Linked DNA regions of Homo sapiens: regions 1 and 3 are each linked to region 2. Evidence: promoter capture Hi-C in human tissues and cell types (Jung and others, 2019). All regions are on one chromosome and are shown on one strand. Each heading gives the region's core, a stretch centred on a gene start or on the middle of the fragment in contact. The rest is flanking DNA. Distances are from core to core; before and after follow the strand shown.

Region 1 (2,724 bases), core at 212-2,711, 150 kb after region 2:
GATGACAGGAAAGTGAGTGCATCCTTCCTGAATGCAGCCAGCAGCTGCTGGGAGAGACTCCAGGAGACCAGCTCAGGCTCAGAGGAAAGAGAGTGTGTTCTTCAATCAAACCATATTAAGTGCCACAAGAGTCACTTTAAAAGGAGGTGACAGAAAAACACAAAGGGAAAACTGGTCCTAAGGTAATGTGGGCCTGAAATCGAGTCTTAAAAAAGAGACAGTTTGGGAAAAGGGGAGGTATGAATGGAGAGAAATCAAATACTGAGCATGACCTCCCAGCAGAGAGTTGAAAACAATACAGCAGGCTTTCCAGCAGGGAAGAGTTTATTAATAACACTGATAATATAATGAAATGTACAGTTGTGAGGCGCTTCTCCTTCAGAGAGGTCAAAGCATTTTCCTGTGTGGCCAAATCCCTCTGCAATCTGATTCAGTGGTTTCTGTGGCTGGGACGGAAGGGAGGAAACTGAGGCATGGGGAGACGGGTGAAATTAAGCCTCCTGCACCATTCACAGCAGATCAGACCCATGTGAGATCAGACCTCCTTGAGCCCAGGCTGGGTCGCGTGCTAGCCTGTGCAGAACATTGGTGCCTCCCTCCCTGAGCTCCTCCCCTTGCAGCAGTCTCTGCTAGGCTGCCAAGGGGGCAAGTGGGCTGTGTTGATGTTCCTTTGTACTCGCATTGCTCTTAGGATAAAACCCACACTCCTTAGTATGGCATCAGGCCGAGGTCTTCATGATTAAGCAATACCCTCCTCTCCAGCCTTTGTTACAGCAGCAACTAGGAAACTAATACCTGACTCAGGGGTCATCCAGGGGTAGAGAAAGAGTATCCTAATCATTTCCTGCAGCAAAAACAAAATACCTGAGATTGGGTAACTTATAAAGAACATAAACTTTTTATTTCTCACAGTTCTGGAGGCTGGAAAGCCCAGGACCTGGGCACTGGCAGATTCCATGTGTGTCTGGGGAGGGCTGCTCTCTGCTTGCAAGTTGGTGTCTTGTTGCTGCATCCTCCAGAGGGGAGGAGCACTGTGTCCTCACACAGCAGACGGGACAGGAGGGATGAAGTTGCCCCTTCAAGCCCTTTTATAAGGCACTAATCCATTCATAAGGGCCAAGCCCCCATGGCCTACTCACCTCCTAAAGGCCTCACCTTGCAACACTATTGCATTGGGAATTAAGTTTCAACAGGAATTTTGGAGAAGACACAAACATTTAAACCATAGCAGAAGGAAAGGGGCCCCCTCCCGCTCCAGCCCCTTCAGCCTCAACTACTATGGTGGCCCCACATGCCTGTTCCTGTTTCTCAGTTATGCCAACAAGTGCGCCAGGGTCCCCGTCTCCACACCGGGGCTGGGAGTGTCCAGCCCTCTTTCTCCACCTGGATAGCCCCTGAGTTCTTGTATTCGTTTCCTAGTTCCTTCCTAACAACATACCTCAAATTGGGTGTATTAAAGCAACAGAAATGTATGGTCTCAGTTCTGGAGACCAGAAGTCTGAAATCAAGATGCTCGCCAGGGCTATGCTCCCTCCGAAGGTGTGAGGGCCTCTCTCCCAGACTCTGGTGGGTCCCTGGCTTGTGGCGGCATAACTCCAATCATCACATGGCACTCCCCCTGTGTGCGCGGCTGTTCCTGTGCCCAAACCTTCCCTTTTTTTTTTTTTTTTGAGATGGAGTCTCGCTCTGTCTCCCAGGCTGTAGTGCAGTGGCGCGATCTCGGCTCACTGCAAGCTCCCTCTCCCGGGTTCCCGCCATTCTCCTGCCTCAGCCTCCCAAGTAGCTGGGACTACAGGCGCCTGCCACCGCGCCTGGCTAATTTTTTTGTATTTTTTTAGTAGAGATGGGGTTTCACTGTGTTAGCCAGGATGGTCTCGATCTCCTGACCTCGCGATCTGGCCGCCTTGGCCTCCCAAAGTGCTGGAATTACAGGCGTGAGCCACCACGCCCGGCCCGAACCTTCCCTTTTTTATAAGGACACTAGTCATACTGGGTTGGAGCCCATTCTAATGACCTCATTTTAACTTGATTACCCCTGTAAAGGACCTAATTCCAAATAATGGCACATTCTGAGGTACTGGGGCTGAGGATTCCCACATATCTTTCTTGCAGGGAACACTGTTCCACTCATAATGGTCCTAAAAGCCATAATTTGAGCATCACCCCTAGGCCGGGCTGGGCTGAGTGTCCTTCCCCTGCACCTCTCTGGTGTCCTGCCTGGTCCTCATCACACCACATTATGAAGCCCACTTGTCTGTGCTCCCCACTTGCCTGTGACTCTGAGAGAAGAAATGGAGGCTTCTCTCAGATCCTACTCAGGTGGGTACATTGTGGGCATCAAACATGTTCCAATGAATGAACGCAGACAGTGATGGATCTTGCCAACGGTGGTGCTGGCTCCATTACCCGCCATCACCACAGGAGTACAGGTGAACACATGGTCAGCAGGCTTGAGTGACCTCTGTCCAGACTCCGGCCTCAAGGACAACTAGGTGAGCTGGCAAATTTAGTCCATTTGTCTCATGCCAACCTGGTCCCGACAGCTGGAAACTTCAGCAAAGATGGGGGCCCACAGGATGGCTTTTCAGGAGCTCCAAACCATTGTCCTGAATGTCATCTTTCAAGTTGTGATCATGAATGGCTGCCAAGATGAAGAGAATTTTTTTTTTCTAGTTGTTTTTCTCCCTGATCTTTCTCAGCACCCCATGGACCCATTCTTCTAGA
Region 2 (3,083 bases), core at 87-2,586:
CACAGCACTAAGACCACACATAACTGACCTACACTTCACTGGTAATTTAATTCACACCAGGGATATGTTAACAAAATGTGTTTATTGCCCAAGGTTTTTAAAATGAAGGAGAAAGAAAGCCGAAATTTATCACATATAAACAGACTTGGATTTCTTTTTTATTTTTGATCTGATTTAAACATTTTTAAATACAATATGTATTGGTTAAACTGTTGCTTCACAAAATCCTGATGAATGTCAGAATCGATGTTTATGACTCAAGAGCAGACCAAGAATATCAGAAATGACCAGAGAAACTATGGTTTAACAAGTCACCTTGGAGGAAGGGGAAATGCAAGGGAGAATAGGTATTTTGGAGGCAGATGAAATGCAGATATGGAAGTAGGACTCCATTTATACTTCAGTTGTCAATGGCACTGGTAACTGTCCCCCAAGGGATGACAAAATAAAATAATAGATCTGCCACCTCCAGGTGCCTGCCAGTTACTACCTCATTACAGATTATTGTTGCAAACTATTATATAATTTAAGAATTTAAATAATCAGTAAAAGACTATCAAATTTTCTTTGTGTTTTTGGGTGTATGTAGGAGGTGGGGCAGTATAGGATGAAAGAGGGCCAAGGAAGAGGAAAGCAATGTGGAAGAGCAAACAGCATACTAGAGTTGTTTTATAATGTAACTTTTTTCTCAAATAATTAGATCATCCACTGGTTTTGAATTTTTATTTATGCATGTATTTATTTATTTATTAGGTGGATACCTTTATGGTGAAGGGATTTGAATTTAGCTTTTAAATTGGAATTTTTCAAAGACCACAACCCCAGCTGACAAAGATGAAATACTTAACATTAAGAAAGTCTTTTTGATGATTGCCTTTGTGAAGCCAGGATAACAATTTTCGAGACATGTTTTGTTCATTTTCACCTAAGAAGGTGCTATTAGGCTACTTTCCGTGACTCAATTCCTACACTCTCAAGACAGGGCTGGCATTAGTTACACAGACTCTGTGCTGCGTTCTGCCCCTTCCTGGAGAAGCCATCGCCAAGTTCTCAGTGAGTGCTCACAGAGGGCATGGTTCAGTGGCTAGGCATGCACATTTGCATTTGTTGTTGACAACTGTCAGCTTCGACCTCCTTCTCCTCACAACCCCGTCTAAATGGGGTTTGTAATCCTCCTTCCCACCCACTCTCTTCACTCCCTGGGGCAAGAATGTTGACTCCTGCTCTCCGTCACCTGTCAGGATCCATCCTCCTGTCACTGGCTTATATGGACACGTCAGCCCACCGTCACGTGACCGCAGGCTGCTAAAAACAGCTCCAGCACCCACTCCAAACCAGGGCCTGAAACAATGTCCTCCACCGAGAGAAACGTAAAGGACACTTGATCACACAATCCCTGGAATAATATCCAGGAAACACTTGCTGGAGCCACTCGCAGCACCCTTCCCTGGCAGCACACTTGGGGACAGCGAGGAGATGAGCGCATCTCTGAATTACAAATCTTTTTCCAAAGAGCAGCAGACCATGGATAACTTAGAGAAGCAACTCATCTGTCCCATCTGCTTAGAGATGTTCACGAAACCTGTGGTGATTCTCCCTTGTCAGCACAACCTGTGTAGGAAATGTGCCAGTGATATTTTCCAGGTAGGTTTGTTTGGAATTTGGTTGAGGGGAGGGGGTGGAAAAGATTCCCTCCTCTTGGAATCAAGTGCTTAACATTGAGGTGAAATCCTTTAAAAAACTTTATAAGGTTGCCGGGCGCTTTGGCTCACGCCTGTAGTCCCAGCACTTTGGGAGGCTGAGGCCAGTGGATCACCTGAGGTCAGGCCTTCGAGACCAGGCTGGCCAACATGGCAAAACCCCATCTCCACTAAAAATACAAAAAAAAAAAAATTAGCTGGGCATGGTGGCGGGCACCTATAATCTCAGGTACTTGGGAGGCTGAGGCAGGAGAATTGCTTGAACCCAGGAGGCGGACATTGCAGCGAGCGGAGATCGTGCCATTGCCCTCCGGCCTGGGCAACAGAGCAAGACTCTGTCTCAAAAAAAGAAAAACAAACAAACAAAAAAACTTTATAAAGTTGCATTTACTTTCAAGAAAAACACGTTTCTTTTAATGATTTGGTTTGTGTCCTCTTTACTCCCAAATCTAGTTTTATTTTAATACTAAGAATCATATTTTTTTTTAAGTCAAACCATTTAATGTGTTTCAAAACTATAAATGAGTAACTGCTGAAGACATGAGTGTGGAGTTTCTGGCTGGAACTTTTGGTTCTGAAAGTGGTGGACGGAAAAGCACCTTACGTGGACAATGGTATATTCGCAGATGACTGTGGATAAGGTCTGACCCTGTGTTTCAGGACCACTTGCTGAGAAAGCCCTGAGGGATGATCTTATGGCAAGCTTAAAGTAGAAGTTCATGTTGTTTGTAGTAGCAGAGAGTGAAAATAAGTCTCAGAGAAGCTGCTTGTGGCATTACCCAATTCCTTTTTTCTTACTTGGCAAGAACAGGCCTCTAACCCGTATTTGCCCACAAGAGGAGGTACCACCATGGCATCAGGGGGCCGATTCCGCTGCCCATCCTGTAGACATGAAGTGGTTTTGGATAGACATGGGGTATATGGACTTCAGAGGAACCTGCTGGTGGAAAATATCATTGACATCTACAAGCAGGAGTCCACCAGGTAACACTCTTCCACTCTTCCATGTGTCAAGCCCATCTGAAACTTGTTTTTGTTTGTTTGTTTTAATGGGTTGCTACGCTGAATGCTTGTTTATCAATCACAGACTGTTTTATGGAAAAATGGTTTTCCAAGTCAGTCCTTCCCAGTGAGACTGAGAGTTGCTCACAGCAGGAGAGAGGGGAGTTGGTGCCCATGCTTTTGTATCAATTTAAGAATGAAGTGACTCATTAACACCAATCCATTCCAGATGGTGATGCTGAAAGAGACATACTGCTGTCCCCCTCCACCTTAAAGCCTGGTATTACATCCATTTTACACATTTTGCACTTCACAGGCACTTTGTAGCTCCAGATCCCTACAAAGCAAAGAAAAAAAAATCTAGTAAATACTTAATAGAAA
Region 3 (2,944 bases), core at 356-2,855, 170 kb after region 2:
CAAATCTTTATGGGAAATATTAAATAGAAGCAGAACAACCAAAAGCTTCAGTCACAGTGAACAATTAAAGGGCAGCCACCACAGACAGCATCCTTGGAGCCCAGAGCAGTCCCAAGCCCAGCCCCGGGTACCTTCCTGTCACTTCTGCTTCACTAAGAAGTGAATGGTAATACAGGAAATGGTAGGAGTATCCTTTCAAACTCCTTTCTTTATGAAATAACCTTTTTTAAAAAATGGTAACTAACAAAGTCTTATTGAAACATTTTATTATGGATACTTGGCATTTAAAGGGAAATCTATTAGTCAAGCAATGGCATTAATAAAAGGCATTTCTTCTGAAGTTGACAACAATTATTCAATTGATCAGCACCATCAGCTACATCGATCACTGCTGGGACATGGGTAGCATTCCAATTGGAGCACAGAAAGGAGGGTGTTTGGAGGAGTGTACTGTGTAAACCAAATACAAGTAAACAATTACCTATGTTGTCACACCTGTAACCCCAGCACATTGGGAGGCCGAGGTGGGCAGATCATGAGATCAGGAGATCAAGACCATCCTGACCAAGAGGCTGAAACCCTGTCTCTACTAATAATACAAAAATTAGCTGGGTGTGGTGGTGCACACCTGTAATCTCAGCTACTCGGGAAGCTGAGGCAGGAGAATCGCTTGAACTCAGGAGGTAGAGGTTGCAGTGAGCCGAGATGGTGCCACTGCACTCCAGCCTGGCAACAGAGCGAGACTCCATCTTAAAAAAAACAAAAAAAAAAACAAAAAAAAACAGTGTGTCACCTCCATCTTACAGATGAGTAAAGCACCGTACAGGGAGGTTAATGCTAAAGCATTGTCAACAGGTAATGTTAATGTTAAGTCAATTTTACATAAACTACTATGTCTTCAATAAGTTTTCCTCGTTTTTGCATCACTTTGCTTGTATGCAGGGATTTCACAATTTGGCATATAAAAACATAGGAATATTTAATCATACTCTTAATTCTAAAAACAAACCAGAATGTCCCAAGAAAGGAATAAATTTAAAAATATACATTTTCAAAGAATATTTAGTGGAATGAGGAAATTTCTTGATACAATCATAAGTAACAAAAAAGCAAAGAATATAAAACTATATTTTCAATTTCAGCATAATTCATTTGATCCCAATTTTGTAAACATGAGCACATGTTTATGTAGCAACATGTTGAAAAAAGACTGGAAGGAAATATACCAAAAATGTTAACGTACTTGATTTGGGGTATTAAGAGTAGGTTTTTTTCTTTACACATTTTTTGTTTCAAAATTATCTATAATAAATATTCATTGTATAATTAGAAAAAATGTAATGTGTTTTAAATGACCAAGTTTCTATTCTTTGAAATAATTCTAGTATCCTTTCCACTTATTTATGCATAATTCATGTCCTGTGCAGTAATAAAACTACCCCCAACCCATTTCAAAATTTCCTCCAAGCACAAGGTCATTAACCCCAAAATGAAACAAATTGAAGCTTTAAAATTCTATAGTCCTAGGCCTCTATATGTATTGCCACATTTACTTCATACATAGTGAAGATACAGAAAAATAAGGAGTTTTACCACGGACTGGTGTGTCTGCAATTTTGCCGTTCACATTCTGTTGTATTAACTTTAGGCTTTATAAAGGAATATTTCAAATATTGACTATTGAGACTTCACCTGTTAGACAGGCATTGCTTGGGGATATAAATCATACATACATCCTGTTCCTAATTAAGGAGGAAGACTGTCCCATGTCATTGGAGACAACAGAATGAACAGCTGCTTCTGCAATGTCAGCTCTTGCATCAGTCAAAATGTTGCTTAGAAACGCTTGTGAGGATTAAGATGAAGTTATATATACTGTTATCTATACCTCAGTCCCTGGGGCTGAGGACAGCCACCAGACATACCTGTACAAGACAAGGAAGTTTGCGACATTAAATCTTTATTTCAATGGCACACTGTCCACGGAAGACAGACATATGCAAACCTACCCACAAAGTCCAAGGAAGCTGAGAGGCTGAAGAAAGAAGCTGACAAGTCCAGTTTCTCCAAAAGAAACTTTTAATAAGGACTTATAAACAGAAGCCTTGTCTGTGTCTTCAGCAGCCGCAAGACAAGAGGGTGGGTTTTTTTGTTGTTGTTGTTTTTTTTTGAGACTGAGTTTCGCTCTTGTTGCCCAGGCCTGGAGTGCAATGTCATGATATCAGCTCACTGCAACCTCCACCTCCCGGGTTCAAGCGATTCTCCTGCCTCAGCCTCCCAAGTAGCTGGGATTACAGGCATGTGCCACTACGCCCAGCTAATTTTGTATTTTTAGCAGAGACAGGGTTTCACCATATTGGTCAGGCTGATCTCCAACTCCTGACCTCAGGTGATACCCCTGCCTCGGCCTCTCAAGGTGTTAGGATTATGGGCGTGAGCCACTGCACCCAGCAAGAGGATGGATTCCAGTGCCATTATACCTTCCAGACACAGAGCTTATATACCACAGGGAAAGGGTGTACATGATTCAGAAGGGATGTGTCAGACAACTGAAGTATGATAATCTCAAGGTTGTTTAGACTTAAGGACAGGATTCGTGGCAAGTACATGCTCTTACACAAGGGACAATAGATAAACTGGAAATCTTAGAGGGCTTCCCAGAACAGGGTCAATTAGGAGTCAACATGGTGGGTTAGCATCCAAGATGGAATTGTTTTAGCCTCCACACATATATAGCAAAGAGAGGGCTTGGACTTTATGAAGGGAAATGAAAAAGGAATTCAGATTCCAGAACTGCTTTATAGGAGAGGTTTGTGGGTGGGAATCTCATTAGGACCAAAAGCACCTTGTCCTGAAGCTACAGTCAAACAGTCCTGGTTCAAGTCCCAATTATCCCACTAGTTACCTTTGTAACTATTGATGAACCATGCAACTTCTTTGATCC

What was found. Contacts are between HindIII fragments. The study calls those that stand out against the background at their distance.
Region 1: a contact is called between a fragment that was not itself captured here and the fragment with the promoter of TRIM55 in region 2, in 1 of the 25 tissues and cell types used here (H1 embryonic stem cells).
Region 3: a fragment that was not itself captured here is called in contact with the fragment with the promoter of TRIM55 in region 2 in 5 of the 25 tissues and cell types used here (H1 embryonic stem cells, bladder, lymphoblastoid cells and 2 more).

What each region holds. Positions count from the first base shown.
Region 1 is chr8:66,277,519-66,280,242 of GRCh38, forward strand. The region is part of intron 1 of LOC102724687 (a long non-coding RNA gene); the gene reads right to left. Among named protein-coding and RNA genes, the nearest start is that of LINC00967, 87 kb to the left of the region's middle. The HindIII fragment of the contact is 5,569 bases long and covers 1-2,724 here.
Region 2 is chr8:66,125,793-66,128,875 of GRCh38, forward strand. It overlaps TRIM55 (tripartite motif containing 55), which reads left to right and starts at 1,337. Exons shown (of 10, transcript NM_184085.2): 1 at 1,337-1,644; 2 at 2,512-2,684. The coding sequence starts at 1,477. RefSeq lists a silencer at 883-1,155. The HindIII fragment of the contact is 11,068 bases long and covers 1-2,939 here.
Region 3 is chr8:66,300,230-66,303,173 of GRCh38, forward strand. All of the region lies in intron 1 of LOC102724687 (a long non-coding RNA gene), which reads right to left. Among named protein-coding and RNA genes, the nearest start is that of LINC00967, 110 kb to the left of the region's middle. The HindIII fragment of the contact is 6,401 bases long and covers 1-2,944 here.